Regions from separate parts of the Homo sapiens genome. Here regions 1, 2, 3, 4 and 6 are each linked to region 5. Evidence: promoter capture Hi-C in 16 types of primary human blood cells and fetal thymus (Javierre and others, 2016). All regions are on one chromosome and are shown on one strand. The core of a region is centred on a gene start or on the middle of the fragment in contact, and the rest is flanking DNA. Distances in the headings are between cores, read along the strand shown.

What was found. Contacts are between HindIII fragments. The CHiCAGO score rates a contact against its expected background, and 5 or more counts as called.
Region 1: a fragment that was not itself captured here is called in contact with the fragment with the promoter of PLXND1 in region 5 in 6 of 17 cell types (total CD8 T cells, naive CD4 T cells, naive CD8 T cells and 3 more); the score reaches 5.9 in total CD8 T cells.
Region 2: a fragment that was not itself captured here is called in contact with the fragment with the promoter of PLXND1 in region 5 in 8 of 17 cell types (naive CD8 T cells, total B cells, neutrophils and 5 more); the score reaches 6.7 in naive CD8 T cells.
Region 3: a fragment that was not itself captured here is called in contact with the fragment with the promoter of PLXND1 in region 5 in 8 of 17 cell types (M1 macrophages, M0 macrophages, M2 macrophages and 5 more); the score reaches 8.2 in M1 macrophages.
Region 4: a contact is called between a fragment that was not itself captured here and the fragment with the promoter of PLXND1 in region 5, in 2 of 17 cell types (neutrophils and naive CD4 T cells). The highest score is 5.9, in neutrophils.
Region 6: a contact is called between a fragment that was not itself captured here and the fragment with the promoter of PLXND1 in region 5, in 2 of 17 cell types (M1 macrophages and M0 macrophages). The highest score is 5.9, in M1 macrophages.

Annotation. Positions count from the first base shown.
Region 1 is chr3:129,974,407-129,977,106 of GRCh38, reverse strand. It overlaps TRH (thyrotropin releasing hormone), which reads right to left and starts at 2,387. Exons shown (of 3, transcript NM_007117.5): 1 at 2,284-2,387; 2 at 1,080-1,298; 3 at 1-408. The coding sequence starts at 1,290. It also overlaps the pseudogene LOC124906284. The HindIII fragment of the contact is 1,015 bases long and covers 847-1,861 here.
Region 2 is chr3:129,995,700-129,998,509 of GRCh38, reverse strand. It overlaps the pseudogene LOC124906284 and the pseudogene RPS17P9. Among named protein-coding and RNA genes, the nearest start is that of TRH, 22 kb to the right of the region's middle. The HindIII fragment of the contact is 3,275 bases long and covers 1-2,810 here.
Region 3 is chr3:129,886,799-129,889,605 of GRCh38, reverse strand. The region is part of intron 1 of TMCC1 (transmembrane and coiled-coil domain family 1); the gene reads left to right. Among named protein-coding and RNA genes, the nearest start is that of TMCC1, 5.5 kb to the left of the region's middle. The HindIII fragment of the contact is 3,283 bases long and covers 1-2,807 here.
Region 4 is chr3:129,955,917-129,958,662 of GRCh38, reverse strand. No RefSeq gene overlaps it. Among named protein-coding and RNA genes, the nearest start is that of TRH, 17 kb to the left of the region's middle. The HindIII fragment of the contact is 5,965 bases long and covers 1-2,746 here.
Region 5 is chr3:129,605,299-129,607,998 of GRCh38, reverse strand. It overlaps PLXND1 (plexin D1), which reads left to right and starts at 1,323. Exons shown (of 36, transcript NM_015103.3): 1 at 1,323-2,670. The coding sequence starts at 1,360. RefSeq lists enhancers at 1-101, 102-1,094, 2,087-2,700 and silencers at 995-1,154, 1,305-1,364. The HindIII fragment of the contact is 18,333 bases long and covers 1-2,700 here.
Region 6 is chr3:129,867,051-129,869,750 of GRCh38, reverse strand. The region is part of intron 2 of TMCC1 (transmembrane and coiled-coil domain family 1); the gene reads left to right. Among named protein-coding and RNA genes, the nearest start is that of TMCC1, 25 kb to the left of the region's middle. The HindIII fragment of the contact is 2,488 bases long and covers 64-2,551 here.

The sequences.
Region 1 (2,700 bases), core at 105-2,604, 370 kb before region 5:
CCGCTTGACCATAGGCTCCCTGGGGCCCACAGGGGCCTCCCAGGGCCCTCTTGCCCGGATGCTGGCGTTTTTCAGGCATCAGGTCTTCCTCTCTCTCTTCCTCCTCCTCCTCTTCTTCCCAGCTCCTTTGAGCCTTGGGATCTGCCAGCCTTCTGCCTGGGTGCTGCCGCTTCGGGACAGCATATGCAAGCCAGGGGGAGCGCCGGCCAGGATGCTGCCGCTTGTGCTGGGTTACATCGACTGACCATGAAGCCTCATCTTCTCGTCGGCCAGGGTGCTGCCGTTTGTGGGGTCCCACAGCCCCCCCTTCTTCCTCTTCCTCTTCTTCAACTCCCTCTTCCTCCTCCTCCTCTCTTTTGCCTGGATGCTGACGTTTGGAGAGCCAGTCAGATTGAAAGATCTGGGACGCTGGGGAAGGAAAGAGGTCAGTGAGGGGCCCCTGACCCATGTAATAGGCAGGCGCCTGAGTGCCCACTCCTGCTTTTCTCCCAGGCAGGGTACATTTCCTGCAGCTCCCACTCAGAGGCATGGTCTTGCACCTGCCCCTCAGGCCTCACAGATACACACATTCACACAATAGTCAAAGGCATTGCCTCTGGGTTCCAATCCCAGCTCTGGCGCTCCCTAGTTGTCTGACCATAAGCGACTCAATTGATCTCTGGGAGCCTCAGTTTTCTTCTGTGTAAAATCGTAATAACAGTACCTAACTAAGAGGTTGTTAGGAAGATCAAACAGTGTGATAAGGTGTTTGAAGTGCTTGGAATAGTGTCTGGCACAGAAGTGCCTAGACAGTAGTAATTCAAACTGTCACACACAAAGAAACTCTCTCCCTAGCACACAGAAGCTTCCCCACCCAGGGCCTGCTCTCTGTGAAATATTCCCAGCATTGAGACAGGGGAGGAATCTGACCCCGAGGAATGGTCAACTCCAGATCCCGCCTAGGCGCAGCCAGGGAGGGTTTCTGAGCTTCCGAAAGGCAGAAGGCTAGCTGACCAAGCCTCCCCTCCCCTTTGCCGGCAGGTTTCCACGGCTCTCCCAATAGCCTAGCCCCACAGCCCCCAACAGCCCCATCCACTCACCGGAGTGCTCACCCTGGTCCCCTTGCAGCCGCTGGATGTTTTCCCGGAGGAAGAGGAGGCGCTCCACCTGGCGCAGGAAGTCATCCAGGCCCGGATGCTCCGCGGCCGTCACTGCCTCCTGCTGGGCCGCCTCTGGCTGAGCACGGCCGCCGGGGACACCGGTCAGGTTCAGGGTCAAAGCCAGAGCGAGCAGCAACCAAGGGCCGGGCATCGCGGCGTCTGGGTTAGGGGACAGAGGGAGCCTGAGCGCACCGAATCACAGCACATCCCGCTCCATCTCCCCCGACGCCCGCCAGAAACAAACCACGCACAGTTCAACCGCCCTCCCAGAAGCAGGACCACTGCCCCTCGTGCAGGGGCGGGAGCAGCGGCGGGTTCGCCCCGGCTCTGCGTCCACACCTGTCACCTCTAGGCGTCCTCGCCCCCACGGGTGCCTGTAGTGCCTGCGCCCAGTTCTGCTTGCGCAAGGCAGGAGGCCGTAGGAACCCCATCGCCAGCGCCACCGCCACCCTTCAATGTGACGCGGAACTGGGGAAGCCAACGCTGGGACTGCCTCGCCGGGAGTGCAACCATTGAGATTGCAGCGCCAGGCACAGCCGCGACGCTAACGGTTGCGTCCCCGCCAAGACTCCCCCAAAGGTCCCCATCGCCACGTTCTAACTCCAAGCTCCGTGGCCGACGTCCTCATTCCAACGCGAAGATCCCATTTCTATCGCTAAGATTCAGGTTCTAAAGCTCAAAGTCTATTTGCAAAGCTAAGATTCTATTTCTAATGCTAAGCTTTCATGACTAAGCCAGGAATCTGATTCTAACGCTAAAATCCTAACTTCAACGCTAAAATTCTATTTCTAGCGTTGAGATTGGGATTCGAACTCCCAGGTTCTCAGGCCGACGCCCTGAATACCCAGCTCTGTCCGGCGGCACCCAGGCAGGGGGTGCCGCGGAGCTCCCACCCCGCGCTGCGGACTCTGGCGACCTGAGTGCCCAGCAGCGAGAGCCTCCGATGTGCCCGCGCCGTGCCTCCCGTCGGGTCCCCGGCCTGCGCTCGGGGAGGACCCGGGGGTGCGAGCACAGCGCCCGCCTGTGCACCGGCCCTGTTCTCCAGGAAGCTCTCAGAGAACCGAAGGTGAGGGCGGGCCGAGAGGGCTCCCTTTCCAGTGCTCCCGGACACCGTCTGCGGAAGGAGAGGGGTTGGGGCGGTTACCTGCCAGGAGTGGGCTCCACAGGATGGGTCCGGGATCCGGGGACTCGGGATCCGCAGTCGGCAGGTCAGGAGTCTGCAGCGCTGAGGACCCCGGGCGCCTGCCGAGCCCTCTTCAGATGGGCCGCCGCTTATATCTGCGCCAGGCGGCGGCTCGAGTGAGGTCAGCGGGGAGGGGTCGCGGCCGCCGGGAAGGGGCGCTGACGGCAGCCGGCCCCGCGGGACCCCGCCCGCCTGCTCCTCCGGAAATCTGGGGCGGGGACGGTGGGGACCGGAGCCGGGGCGCGGAGGCACTGGCCGCAGGATGGGGCGCCGGCGCGGGGTCGTTTCTGCACCACCTCTGGAGATCTGTTGACGAGAACACGCGTGTAGGGGGCAAAGGGAGGGACAGAGAGATTGAGAGAAGCGCACGATTAAACA
Region 2 (2,810 bases), core at 51-2,550, 390 kb before region 5:
AGGAACTTCAGGTATTTTTTTTGAGTAAAAACTGCTTCAAGCCATTTTTGGAATCAAATAGAGTGGCTACCAGAAATAGGCTGATTTCATAGTTAGGCATAGTGGTGCGTGCCTGTAGTCCCAGCTACTTGGGAGGCTGAGGCAGGAGAATGGCTTGAACCTGAGATTGGCTTGAGCCAAGATCGTGCCAGCCACTCCAGCCTGGGCAACAGAGCAAGAGAAGGAAAAGAAAGAAAGAAAAGAAGGAAGGAGAAAGAAAAAGAGAGAAAGAGAGAGAGAAAAAGAGAGAAAGAAGGAAGGAAAGTCAGAAAGAAAGAGAAAGAAGGAAGGAAGGAAAGTCAGAAAGAAAGAAAAAGAAAGGAAAGAGAAGGAAAGAAAGAAAGGAAGAAAAAGAAAGAAAGAAAGAAAAAGAAAAGAAAGAAAGGGAGAAAGGAGGGAGGGAAGGAAGGAAAGAAGAAGGAAGGAAGGAAGTTGATTTCATTTCAGCCAGGCGTGGTGGCTCACACCTGTAATCCCAGCACTTTGGGAGGCTGAGGCAAGCTATATCACTTGAGGTCAGGAGTTTGTGACCAGCCTGGCCAACAATGGTGAAACCCTGTCTTTACTAAAAATACAAAAATTAAGGCCAGGTGCAGTGGCTCATGCCTGTAATCCCAGCACTTTGGGAGGCCGAGGTGGGTGGATCACCTGAGGTCAGGAGTTCAAGACCAGCCTGACCAACATGGAGAAACCTCGTCTCTACTAAAAATACAAAATTAGCTGGGCATGGTGGCGCATGCCTGTAATCCCAGCTGCTCAAGAGGCTGAGGCAGGAGAATCATTAGAACCCAAAAGGTGGAGGTTGCAGTGAGCCAAGATCACGCCATCACACTCCAGCCTGGGCAACAAGAGCAAAACTCCGTCTCAAAAAAAAAAAAATTAGCCGGGCGTGGTGGGTGCACCTGTAATCCCAGCTACTCGGGAGGCTGAGGCAGGAGAATCGCTTGAACCCAGGAGGTGGAGGCTACGGTGAGCTGAGATCTCACCACTGCACTCCAGCCTGGGTGACAGAGTGAGACTCCACCTCTAAAAAGAAAAAGAAAAAGAAAAAATAGATTGATTTCAAAAAGATTAATCACTGAAAATAGCTGTTGTTGGAAATGGTGTGGAGCAATGAGTTCTCTGAAACCTCACTCACTATGGGTGGGTGTATAAATTGGGAGCGGCTTTCTATGGAGCAGTTGGCAGTATTTGTGAAAATGTTAACTACCCATGCCCATTGTCCTAGCAATTTTGCTTGTAGGTGTTCTATCCCACAGAAACTCGCATGTCTATACAAAGACAGGAGCAAGACTGCTTATGATGGCGTTGTTTATAATCAGGAAGTGCTGAAAATAACCTAAATATCCATCCATAGGGGTGTGCATAAGTGACTTTTGATGCACCCATGCGTCAACCATTATAGTGATTAAAAAGAACAAGGGAAATATCTAACGACTGACATGAGGACAGCTCTAAGATGTGCGGTGGTATCAGAAAAGTCTTGAGACAATAGTGTGCAAATATATGTGCATGTGGCTGTGTACAAATGTAGAGAAAATGATCTGGAAAGTTACAGCCCTGGTCCCTGTTGCCTGGCATGTTCCAGAAACAGCAAGGAGGCTAAGGAGGATGGTGTGAATGAGGGGAGAGTAGGAGGAGCTGGGTCAAAGAAGTCGCAATAGGCAGAGGACATTGTCCCTGCTGGGTGTGCAGGACCCTCCCCCTTGGCCACCACAGTGCAGCTAGATCCACCAGCTCATGCCCAGAGTTTCTGGTTCTTCCCTGTATTAATGATACCTTTCTATCTTCTATGTTTCTGATGCTTTGACATCTGGGGTCTTGGTAACCCTGGAGGGATTGCTCCTCCCAGGGATGGCCAAGAGATAGTAAAGGACTGGCCTGTAAGTGTGCATTTAACATGCAAACTAATCAATGCACAGCCCCCACCCGCACCACCCCCTTTATCTCTGGGCTCTTTCACTCCAGGCCACTATTCTCCTGCCCTAATCACTCCAGGGCCAGGTACCAAGCATCTAGGGTCAGCCGCTATGCCCCAAAGCCTGCTGAAATTATTCAATCTAGCCAATCCTAAGCCTGTTTACCCTGCCTCACCTGGAAACTAAAGTAAAGGATCTTGCCCCATTTGCCCCTCACACCCTCTGCCTCCTGATTGACCCTCATGCCTCTCCTTGTGGCTCTTCCTGGCATGGCATGCCCCCTCCTCTTGGGACCTGTGAGTAACAAACTCTTTTCTGTGGCAGTCGTCTCCTGAGCTGTTGGTCTCACTGTACTTGAGTAATAATAAGACTTACATCCGTATTTGAAACACACCCCACAGGGTGTGGGATGGAAAGACCTCAGAGCCCCCAAAATGACCAAATGATGCCAGAAGTACAAAAGAATTTATCGTTCATTGGCCACAGAACCAAGGTTGACTAATGAGACCCAGGAGACAGGAGGGATCCAGGTAGATAAACCCCCTCTCCTTCCATCTTTCTCTGGACTATCTGAGACTGGATTTCTCCTTGCAGTCCTCCTGGAGGTGTTCTGTGTAAGGTGGGTGTACCTCCAGAGCAGCCACGAGGGTGATTGTGGAGTGATGGCCTCATGGTACCACCCTTCCCATGGCTTCCCTGCTCCCTTTCTCGGCCTGTGATCATCCTGGGCTCATATCTGGGCTTGCACCACCCAAAGGAAGCAGCCACACATTCATCCTTGCCCTGAGCCCCATTTCTAGAGAAAGCAGGCTAACCAACTTCAACTGTGAACTGTGGCAACATCTTCGAGCT
Region 3 (2,807 bases), core at 272-2,771, 280 kb before region 5:
ATTTACAGAAACATTGCAAAGATACTGCAGAGTTCCTGCCTATCCTACACTGTTTCCCATATTATTAACGTCTTACATCCCTGTGATCATTTGTCTGTATTAATAAACCAGTATTGATACATTATCACAGAGACCATACTTTATCAGGTTTCCACAGGTTTTTTCCTTAATGTTCTTTCACTATCCCAGGATCCCATCCACAATACCACATTACATTTAGTAATTATGTCTCCTTAGCTCCTCTTGGTTGTGACAATTTCTCAGACTTTCCCTGTATTTAGTGACCTTGGCAGTTTTGAACATTACTGGTCAGGTTTTGTTTGTTTGTTTTTTTGAGACAGGATCTCCCTCTGTCACCAAGACTGGAGTGCAGTGGAACGATCTCATCTCACTGCAGCCTCAACACTCTGGGGTCAAGTGATCCTCTGACCTCAATGTCCGGAGTAGCTGGGCCCAGAGATGTGTGCCATCATGCTCTGCTAATTTTTGTACTTTTTGTAGAGATGGGGTTTCACCATGGTGCCCAGGCTGGTCTCGAACTCCTAGAACCAAGCAATCCACCCTCCTCAGCTTCCTAAAGTGCTGGGATTACAGGCGTGAGTCACTGTGTCCAGCCGTGGTCAGGTATTTTTATAGAACGTTCTTTGGGATTTATCTGATGTTTTCATTGTGGTTAGGCCAAGAATGTAATATGCTTTTGGAAGGAAGACCACAGGGCTAAAGTGTCATTCTCATCACATATTAGGGATGTATACTACCAGTATGACTTATCAGTGTTGATGTTAACCCTGCTCATCTGGCTTGAGGCAGAGTTTGTTTTCTGCAAAGTTACTCTTTCCTCCTCTCTTTCCTACTGTACTCTGGAAAATTGTCACTATGTACAGCCCACACTTAGTGGTGATGAGTTATGTTCTACCTCCTTAAGGGTGGTGTATCTACTTAAATTTCATTGCTAAATTATTTCAGCTTTGGCCATTGGGAGCTCTTTAAGTTGGCTCCTGTATCCTTTCTCTTTGACATATCTCCATCATTGTGTGTGTACTTTCTTCCTTTCTGGCAACATAAGATGCTCTTAAGGTTCATCTTGTATATTTTCTGCTCCAGTCCTGTAATCAGTCATTTCTCAAGGAGCCCTGGTACCTTTTATTGAAGAATGGTGTTACAAACCAAGATCTGGGTGATAGGTGTGCTTGTTGGTACTGAAGTGTTGTATCTTCTAGGCCCTCTCAAGGGACGGAGGAAGGAGATATATGTGTACATATTAACCTGTGTATATACACATATCTATATATGTTTCTATATGTAACTGTGTCTTTATTAAGCTAAACATGACTTCGTGATGTCTCCAACTCTAATTCATTACCACATGTATCATTCTAACCTTACCTTGCTTATATGTAACCTCCTGCTTCATCAGTGAAAAACCTGCCTCCCACCATCTGCCAGAATTAATTATTCCATTCCAGCATACACGTATAGTGGTTTCAGAACTGTTAATCTGTATACCTGTGGGAAACTAGTTTATCAACTAGAGACTTACAGATAGTTCTTTTTGCCTTTAGTTTTATAGACAGCACTCATTTCTAATGTTTTTTAGGTCAGCAGCTTTCCCTACTTACTTCCTGAAGTCGTCTCGTGTATTTGTGATAGATTTAGATTTTGTCACATTCTGCATTTTTTGCTGAGCTACCTTTATCTCCTAATTACTTAAGAATTTGCACACATTAAAGTTTATTCTTTGTGATATAAATTTCTATGGGTTTTGACAGCTTCTAGTATTTTATGTTTAACATTACAGTATCATACAGATTAGTTCCACAGCTCTAGAAAGTTTGTCTCTCACTGATTTACTTCCCTCACACCAGCCTCTGGCAACCTCACTGATCTTTTAACTGTCTCTATAGTTTTGCCTTTTTTAGAATGTCAATATATTATATTTTAAAAAGTGTTTTTGAGTGGTCTTTTTTTTAATGCTCACAGTATTTTGTTAAGGAGTGGAGGAGATACAGGTACAAGATAAATAACATTTAGAAGTTCTTTTTTGTTGTTTTTTTTTTTTTTTTGAGAGACGGAGTCTTGCTCTGTCGCCAGGTTGGAGTGCAGTGGCGCGATCTTGGCTCACTGCAGCCTCCACCTCCCGGGTTCAAGTGATTCTTCTGCCTCAGCCTCCTGAGTAGCTGGGACTACAGGCTCATGCCACCATGCCCAGCTAATTTTTGTATTTTTAATAGAGACGGGATTCCCCCATGTTGGCCAGGGTGGTCTCGATCTCTTGACCTCATGATCCGCCCTCCTTGGCCTCCCAAAGTGCTGGGATTACAGGCATGAGCCAGTGCACCTAGCCCAGTATTTTTTTTTTTCTTAAGGTAAAATTCCTATAAAATACAATTTATGATTTGAAATATGTAGTTAACCATTTTAAATCTACGGTTAAGTGGCTTTTAGTTCATTCACAGTGTAACATGTGCAGCCACCACCGCTGCCAAACTCTAGAACATTTTCATCACCCCAAAAAGAAACCCCATACCTATTAAGCAGTCCCTCTCTTTGTTCCCTGGCAACCACAGTCTGATTTTTGTCCTATGGGTTTGCCTATTCTAAACATGTCACATAAATGGAATCATAATACCTGGCCTTTTGGGGTTTTTTTTGTTTATTTTATTTTATTTGAGACGGAGTCTCACTCTGTCTCCCAGGCTGGAGTGCAGTGGTGTGATCTCGGCTCACTGCAACCTCCGCCTCCCGGGTTCCAGGGATTCTCCTGCCTCAGCCTCCCGAGTAGCTGGGATTACAGGTGCACACACCAC
Region 4 (2,746 bases), core at 178-2,677, 350 kb before region 5:
TCCTGCCACCAGCACCTTTGGACGCATGTCCCTCCCATCTGGGGCGCCTACCTTCTCCATCTGCCTCTCCAAGTCATATCCCTCCTTCCCCAGCTTGACTCCCACTTGTCTAGGAAGCCTGTTCTAATGCCAGTGAACTTTTTCTGTCCTCCTCTACAAAGTCGTGACTTTTCCTTCCTCCACACCTGAGGCTCAGAGAGGTGAGGTGATTTTCTCAGGGTCACACGTCTCAAAAGCAATAGAGCTGGGATTCAAACTCAGGTCTATCTGACTCCACAGTCCAGTCTCCTCTCCCTCTTTCTTTCTTTCTTCTTTCTTTCTTTCATTCTTTCTTTCTCTTTTTATTTCTTTCTTCTCTCTCTTTCTTTTCAGATAGGGTCTCACTCTGTCACCCAGGCTAGAGTGCAGTGGTACAATTATAGCTCACTATAACCTCAAACTCCTGGGCTCAAGTGATCTTCTTGCTTCAGCCTCCCGAGTAGCTGGGACTACAGGTACACATCACCACACTTGGCTAATTTTTTTATTTTTTGCAGAGACAGGTCTTGCTGTGTTGCCCAGGCTGGTCTCAAACTCCTGTCCTCAAGTGATCCTCCTGCCTCAGCCTCCCAAAGTGCTGGGATTACCGGTGTAAGCCACCACGCCAGTCCAAAGCAGTCTCTTTCTATTACATTTTCTAAGATGCTAGAATTTAGGAGTTACATTTCATGCACATTTAAGTTGTATCCATATTTTATTATTATAAGCAATGCTGTAATGAACATCTTCACAGTTTAGTTTATGTTATTAGCATGAATTCCTAGGAGTGGAATTAAGGGTCAAGGTGGAATTAAGGGTCTGAGCATTCATTCAGTCAACAGATATTTCTCATCACTGCCACTGCTGCCAGTCTGGTCCATCCTCACTCACCTGGATGTCTATGGGGGCCTCTTAAGTAGACATACTTCTTCCTCACCTCCTCCTGTGGTATATTGAAAATTAGTCCCAATTCTTCACCTCTTCCTGCAGCCACACCTCTGCCAATGGGATGGATAGATTTCCGTCTCCCTTAACCTTGGCCTTGGCTATTGAATGGCACTGGTCAACAGGATGGAGCATAAGTGGGCCCCCACCTGGGATTTAAGAGCATTTTCACTCGCCCTCTTGTGCTTCTGCCATGGCCACTGGAACATGCCTTGGCTCACCCGCTGCTGCTGGGAGGAGAATCAGATACAGTTGGAGCAGAGCCACTCCAACTTGTCTGCAGGCCTATGAGATGAGATGATCATTGTTTGAAACCACTGGGTTTTGGGGTGGCTTGTTATGTGGCATTATTGTGAAATAGCTGACAGATATGCCCCCCACCTCCAATCTATTCTCCACACACCACAATTATCTCTTTAATATTTTTTAAATAATTTGTGCTTTATGTGCTGTAGAACTTTGCCACTCCATGCCCAAGGACCCTAGGAGCAAGCTGATGAGATACAGGAAGCAGAGGTGGCTGATCAGGCCACAGTACACTCAGATCTCTTCCACATTCATGAGGGTTGACTGAGGCCAAGGTTGCTCACAGAGGAGGTGGAAGAAGCCTGCAACCCTCCCTGGAAGGAGAAAGGGAAGGCCAGTCCCCAACATTTACCAGGGCCTGTTTCATCCTCTCAGGGCCTGTTTCAACCATGGTTCTAACTATCCCCATTCCACCCACAAGAAAACAGGCTCAAAAAAGCAAAGTGGTTTTCCCAGAGTTGCATGATGAGGACATAGCAGTAGTGGGATTGGAACCCTGGCCAGCCTGTTGCCAAGGTATGTCCTGCCCTCCATGCCTTGGCTGGCCTGATCCTAGGGAGTCAGATCAGACCTCTCCCTATGATCACCCCTTCTGCCTCTGGTTATGGCTACTTTCTGGCTGTTTGACCTGAGGCAAGTGATGTCACCTCTCTGGGCCACTAGATTGGAAACTCTGGGAGCAGGGAATTTCTTTTGGTGACTGCTCTATCCCTTCATCTAGAACAGAGCCTACCACTTAATAGATGCTGAAGTAAAGAATGAATGAAAGAATAAATTAATAGTTCTATTTGCCTATCTCTTCATCAAAACCCCAGGATTTCTTCTGTTGAGCACCAGACAAAAGGGTGCTTGAATTTGGAGACTATTTTGATAGCCTCCGAGTGCAGAGAGCCCTGGGAATAAGGCCAGCCTGACTCTAGCCCAACTATTCTCCAGGAGAAGTGACTTATTTGCTCCTCAGTTTCTTCTCTATCAAGTTGACCTCATTGTAGTTCCTACCACAGAGATTGGGTGAGGTTGATTGAGATGTAAGCCACCTGCCACACAATTAGTACCTAATAGACAGGTGGTTGCCATCTGGACTAATGGTAGATGTTTAGGCTAAGTGACCAGCTGAGGATATGACTGGGCAGAACCGTCAAGATGCCCTAGAGGGGAATGTTGAGGTCTCCAGGCAGGAGACCTTAACTATCTCCTGAGAACAGTATGAGCAGTAAGGTCTCTGGCTCTGGGCAGATGGGGGCATGGACAGGAAGGGGGTGAGAGAAGCAGACTCCTGGCTGTTTCATTCCTTCTCTGAATTAGGTCCCCACCAAGCTGTCCTTGGATAGGAGGGACGCGGAGGTGGCAGGCACTTGTAATGAGCAGAGAGCTCGCCCAGGCAAGGCCGGCCATTGATCGCCTGGCTCCTGACTTGTTTCAGCAGCAAGGGAGGAGGGAGAGGGAGTATGTGTGTCCCCAGGAGCAGCATGCAAGT
Region 5 (2,700 bases), core at 74-2,573:
GGTTACCAATAGCGCTCGCCTCGGGGGAATCTGTGAGGAAAAAGAGAGCCCGTACATGGCAAGTGCTTGGCACAGTGTCTGGCACGGGCTAGCCCTGTGTGAGCACCCCCGCAAAACAGCCACGGCGCATGGTCCTCACAGGGCTGTGACCTTGGAACCAGGCTGCCTGCCCCTAACGCTGCTTTTGAGATCAAGAACCCTGCCCAGTGCCGGCTTTTGTGGGACTAATCTTCCACTAAGCCTGGGAGGATGTCAGGGAAAGTGCCTGGCGGGGGTGCCAGGGGTGGGGGTGCGGCTGGGTCTCCACAGGAGGCAACTGTGGGCTCCAGGACCAAGGCCTTGCTCTGGCTATCGGTTGTGGGCCACTGGCTGGAACTATTTCCTCTCTCCATGTTTTCCTCATTTATATATCTGACCCTGAGCACTGGTCCCTCTGGCCCTGCCACTTGTAAATCCCTTTTATGGGTCTGGGGTTTGGGGGACAGATTATGGGGTCTGGGGGGCCCGACTGGCCGGCACCGGGGGAGCGAAGGCCTGGACAGTGCCTGAGAAAGGTGGTGGAGGGAGGCTGAGTGTGGAGGGGAGACACAGGGTTCGGGAAGGCAGAGGGAGAAGGAAAGGGGAGCTCAGAGGGACCGAGAGAGGGACGGAGGGTCCGAGGGGGAGGCAGAGGGAGCCACGGAGAGAGGGAGCGAGCGTCAGGGACGGAAAAACGGAGCAGGAGAGAGAAGGAGACTAGAAAGGGCCGGGGGCGGGGCTGCCAGGGACTGGAGAGCGAAGCGGAGTCGGAGGGAGAAGGAGAAGCAGAGGCAGAACCCGGAGAAGCGCCACACGCGCGGAGTTTGGGGTGGGGACAGAGACGGAGAGACGCAGAGACCGAGAGACGCAGAGAGAGGGAGAGACGGGGTGGGGGAGAGGGCGGAAAAGAGAAAACAGGCGCGAGCGAGGCAGGCCAAGCGGCCAAGTGGGAGGAAAGAGCGAGGAGAGCGAGCGACGGCGGCGGCGGCTACGGGGAGGGACCCTGGGGCCGCGGGCGGGTCCTGGAGGGCGCGGGCGGCGGGACCCGCGGACGGCGGGGCGTGGCCCAGGGCGGCCAGGGGCAGGCGGGGGTCCCGGGGGCGGGCGGGGCCGGGGCGGGGAGTGAGGGCGTGTCCGCAGCGGAGCCGCCCCCGCCCCGCCCCCGGGCTGCGCGGCGAGGCTGACCCGGGCCCGGGCGCCGGGGTCGGGGGCGGCTGGCGCGGGCAGGAAGCGCATCGCGGCCCGGGCCCGCCCCCCGCCTCCCGCCGCCTCCGGGCTCCCGGCTCCCGGCCGCGCCTCGCCCCATGCACTCGCCGCGCCGCGCAGCCCGCGCACGCCCGGATGGCTCCTCGCGCCGCGGGCGGCGCACCCCTTAGCGCCCGGGCCGCCGCCGCCAGCCCCCCGCCGTTCCAGACGCCGCCGCGGTGCCCGGTGCCGCTGCTGTTGCTGCTGCTCCTGGGGGCGGCGCGGGCCGGCGCCCTGGAGATCCAGCGTCGGTTCCCCTCGCCCACGCCCACCAACAACTTCGCCCTGGACGGCGCGGCGGGGACCGTGTACCTGGCGGCCGTCAACCGCCTCTATCAGCTGTCGGGCGCCAACCTGAGCCTGGAGGCCGAGGCGGCCGTGGGCCCGGTGCCCGACAGCCCGCTGTGTCACGCTCCGCAGCTGCCGCAGGCCTCGTGCGAGCACCCGCGGCGCCTCACGGACAACTACAACAAGATCCTGCAGCTGGACCCCGGCCAGGGCCTGGTAGTCGTGTGCGGGTCCATCTACCAGGGCTTCTGCCAGCTGCGGCGCCGGGGCAACATCTCGGCCGTGGCCGTGCGCTTCCCGCCCGCCGCGCCGCCCGCCGAGCCCGTCACGGTGTTCCCCAGCATGCTGAACGTGGCGGCCAACCACCCGAACGCGTCCACCGTGGGGCTAGTTCTGCCTCCCGCCGCGGGCGCGGGGGGCAGCCGCCTGCTCGTGGGCGCCACGTACACCGGTTACGGCAGCTCCTTCTTCCCGCGCAACCGCAGCCTGGAGGACCACCGCTTCGAGAACACGCCCGAGATCGCCATCCGCTCCCTGGACACGCGCGGCGACCTGGCCAAGCTCTTCACCTTCGACCTCAACCCCTCCGACGACAACATCCTCAAGATCAAGCAGGGCGCCAAGGAGCAGCACAAGCTGGGCTTCGTGAGCGCCTTCCTGCACCCGTCCGACCCGCCGCCGGGTGCACAGTCCTACGCGTACCTGGCGCTCAACAGCGAGGCGCGCGCGGGCGACAAGGAGAGCCAGGCGCGGAGCCTGCTGGCGCGCATCTGCCTGCCCCACGGCGCCGGCGGCGACGCCAAGAAGCTCACCGAGTCCTACATCCAGTTGGGCTTGCAGTGCGCGGGCGGCGCGGGCCGCGGCGACCTCTACAGCCGCCTGGTGTCGGTCTTCCCAGCCCGGGAGCGGCTCTTTGCTGTCTTCGAGCGGCCCCAGGGGTCCCCCGCGGCCCGCGCTGCTCCGGCCGCACTCTGCGCCTTCCGCTTCGCCGACGTGCGAGCCGCCATCCGAGCTGCGCGCACCGCCTGCTTCGTGGAACCGGCGCCCGACGTGGTGGCGGTGCTCGACAGCGTGGTGCAGGGCACGGGACCGGCCTGTGAGCGCAAGCTCAACATCCAGGTACACCCGGGCGGTGGCGGCGGCGGCGGC
Region 6 (2,700 bases), core at 58-2,557, 260 kb before region 5:
TGTACATGTGCATCAAGGTAAGTTGGGAGGTTATATCAACAAATACATTTGTATCATCAAGCTTTACAAATATATCCCAAGAATTACTACCTATGGGGGTTTTTCCATACCACACCTAATTCACCTTCAGTTCTATGACACTGAGTGTTCAACAATTCCATTCAATTCTGACACTGTCTACCTGGAGTTAGTGTCAGATCTCAAGTTAAAGGGCTCAGTCCCAAAAGACTGCTGCTGCTTGAGATGCTAGTCACAAGTCTTGGGCCACCCACACTTCTGTCTGGCTTGGCTGCAAATTCAGGGGTTCTCGTGACCCCTTCCTCAGGTTCGTTAATTCACTGGAAAGACTCATAGAACTCAGGAAAACACTTATGTTTATCAATTTATTATAAAGGGTACAACTCAGGAACAGCTAAATGAAATAAATACATAGGGCAAGCTATGGGGGAGGGGTGTGAGGCTTTCATGTCCTCTCTGGGCACAAAACCCTCCCAGCACCTCCATGTATTCACTACCTGGGAATCTTTCCAAACCCCATCATTTAGTCAGTCCCCAGTTCCTCTCTCTTCCCCAAAGGTTGAGGAGTGGAGGACTAAAAGTTCCAATACTCTAATCGCTTGGTTGGTTCCCCTGGCAACCAGCCCTATCCTGAAGCTATCTAGAGGCCCACCAAGAGTCACCTAATTAGTATAAACTCAGGTGTGGTTGAAAGGAATACATTATGAATAACAAAAAGCGCTTCTGTTATTGAGGAAAACCTAAGGGTTTTAGGAGCTCTGCCAGGAATCAAGGACAAAGACCAAATATGTATGTTTCTTATAGCACACTACTATACATAAAACTAGATTTTGTTTTTAGAACAGAGGGCTGGGTTTCAGAATATCAGTATTGAATTCCTTAGGTCATTGATATATTTCTTTCTGTAGCCATAGGGTCACCAATTTGATTATTGGTAATGTCAGTAACATTTGTTTTGAGATCCTTTGATGAAAGGTTCCATTGAAACAGCTAGGCTGGGCGCAGTGGCTCACGCCTGTAATCCTAGCACTTTGGAAGGCCAAGGTGGGTGGATCACTTGAGGTCAGGAGTCCGAGGACCAGCCTGGCCAACATGGTGAAACCCCGTCACTACTAAAAATACAAAAATTAGCTGGGCATGATGGTGTGCACCTGTGATCCCAGCTCCTTGGGAGACTAAGGCAGGAGAATCACTTGAACCCAGGAGGTGGAGGTTGCAGTGAGCCAAGATTGCGCCACTGCACTCAAGCCTGGGCAACAGAGCAAGACTCTATCTCAAAAAAGAAAAGAAAAGAAACAGCTAAATGCCATATTCCTGAGGAGTCTTTATCAAATTCCAGTATTGTTTCTTTTTTTGCTTAGACATTTATTCTCAGATGGCTCTGCATGTGATGTGACAAAAACAGATAATTTTTTTCTGCCAGGAATAATGTTCATTTTTTCCAAACTGTTGGGTCATGAAATTTGGGTAGAAATGCCTTTTGGTGGTCTTAATCTCTTTATTGGTAAACAATAGTATGCGAATTTTCATAGCCAGAAAAGGAAGAGTAAATTGTTTGGAATTCCAAATTCTTTCCTGCTTGTATGGTTTTTCCCCCCTCTGCCTGCCTGTTTTAATGTATTTGTTAGAGATGTGGGCGTTGTCTTCTTGTAACACAGGGATTTCCTTAGAATGTGAGCCTTAAATTAATATTTTAAATGTTTTAGAACATCTATGGGAAGTATCTTGATGTACAAGAATGGGTACTAGTCTAACGTAGTGCCTAGCAGAGTTCTTGGCACGTATTAGGCACACAATAAATATGTTACTCTTCTAGAAGTTAGAAGCCTCTGTTCTAGCGTTTGTATGCCACAAACTATCTGTGTGACCTAGAGTCTTCATCTGTCGTCATCTTTAGAATCACTTGTCTTGTAGCTCTGACTCAGTGACTCAGTTTATTCTGGTCTTATTTTTTAAAAACTTATTTCTACTATGGCCTTAAAGTCAGTTTCTTGAAAATAAGCCAATGCAGTCACCAGATAGGATGAACTGGGAAGTGTTGTGAAATAAGCCACCTTCTGTGGCTTCAGTTATTTGCTTGGCTATATGTTCTTTCTTTACTCTGGTAGAGTTACATTAGATTTTCTACCCACACCAGGTTAGGACTAGATAATTTTTTAATTTAGAGACAGATTTAAACCTATCACTGAATTAGCATTTATTGAATACTAATGGTATTGTTAAGGAATTTAGATTTGATATGGCACTTCAAGAAGCCAGTGTGGAAAGAGGAAAACAGGAAAACTAGCTATTGAAGGCCATATGGTTTGTATTATGGAAATATAAAGAAGGAAGAGAATAGGTGACTGTTGAAGCGATTACAGGAGGATTTGATCTGTGTTCTCTATTTGTAATGTTGAAGAAGAAGGCTATCATTGCAAGTATGAAAAATAACATGGATGAAAGCATGGAGATACTTGAATCGTACATTTGTGTTTCTGTGTTTGTGAGACTAGCCCGCCCTACCCATTTGCTGACCTTTTGGAGACAAGCTTAGTTTTGAGTAAGGTCATTTTAAGATATGAAGAGTGGACTTTGAGAGGTAGAATTGAAACAAAGGAAATGAAGAAGTGTTTTTTTTTTTTTAACTCATAGGTAGGATGAATTGGACAAGGATGAGACTCGTGTAGGTGAGGACAGTTG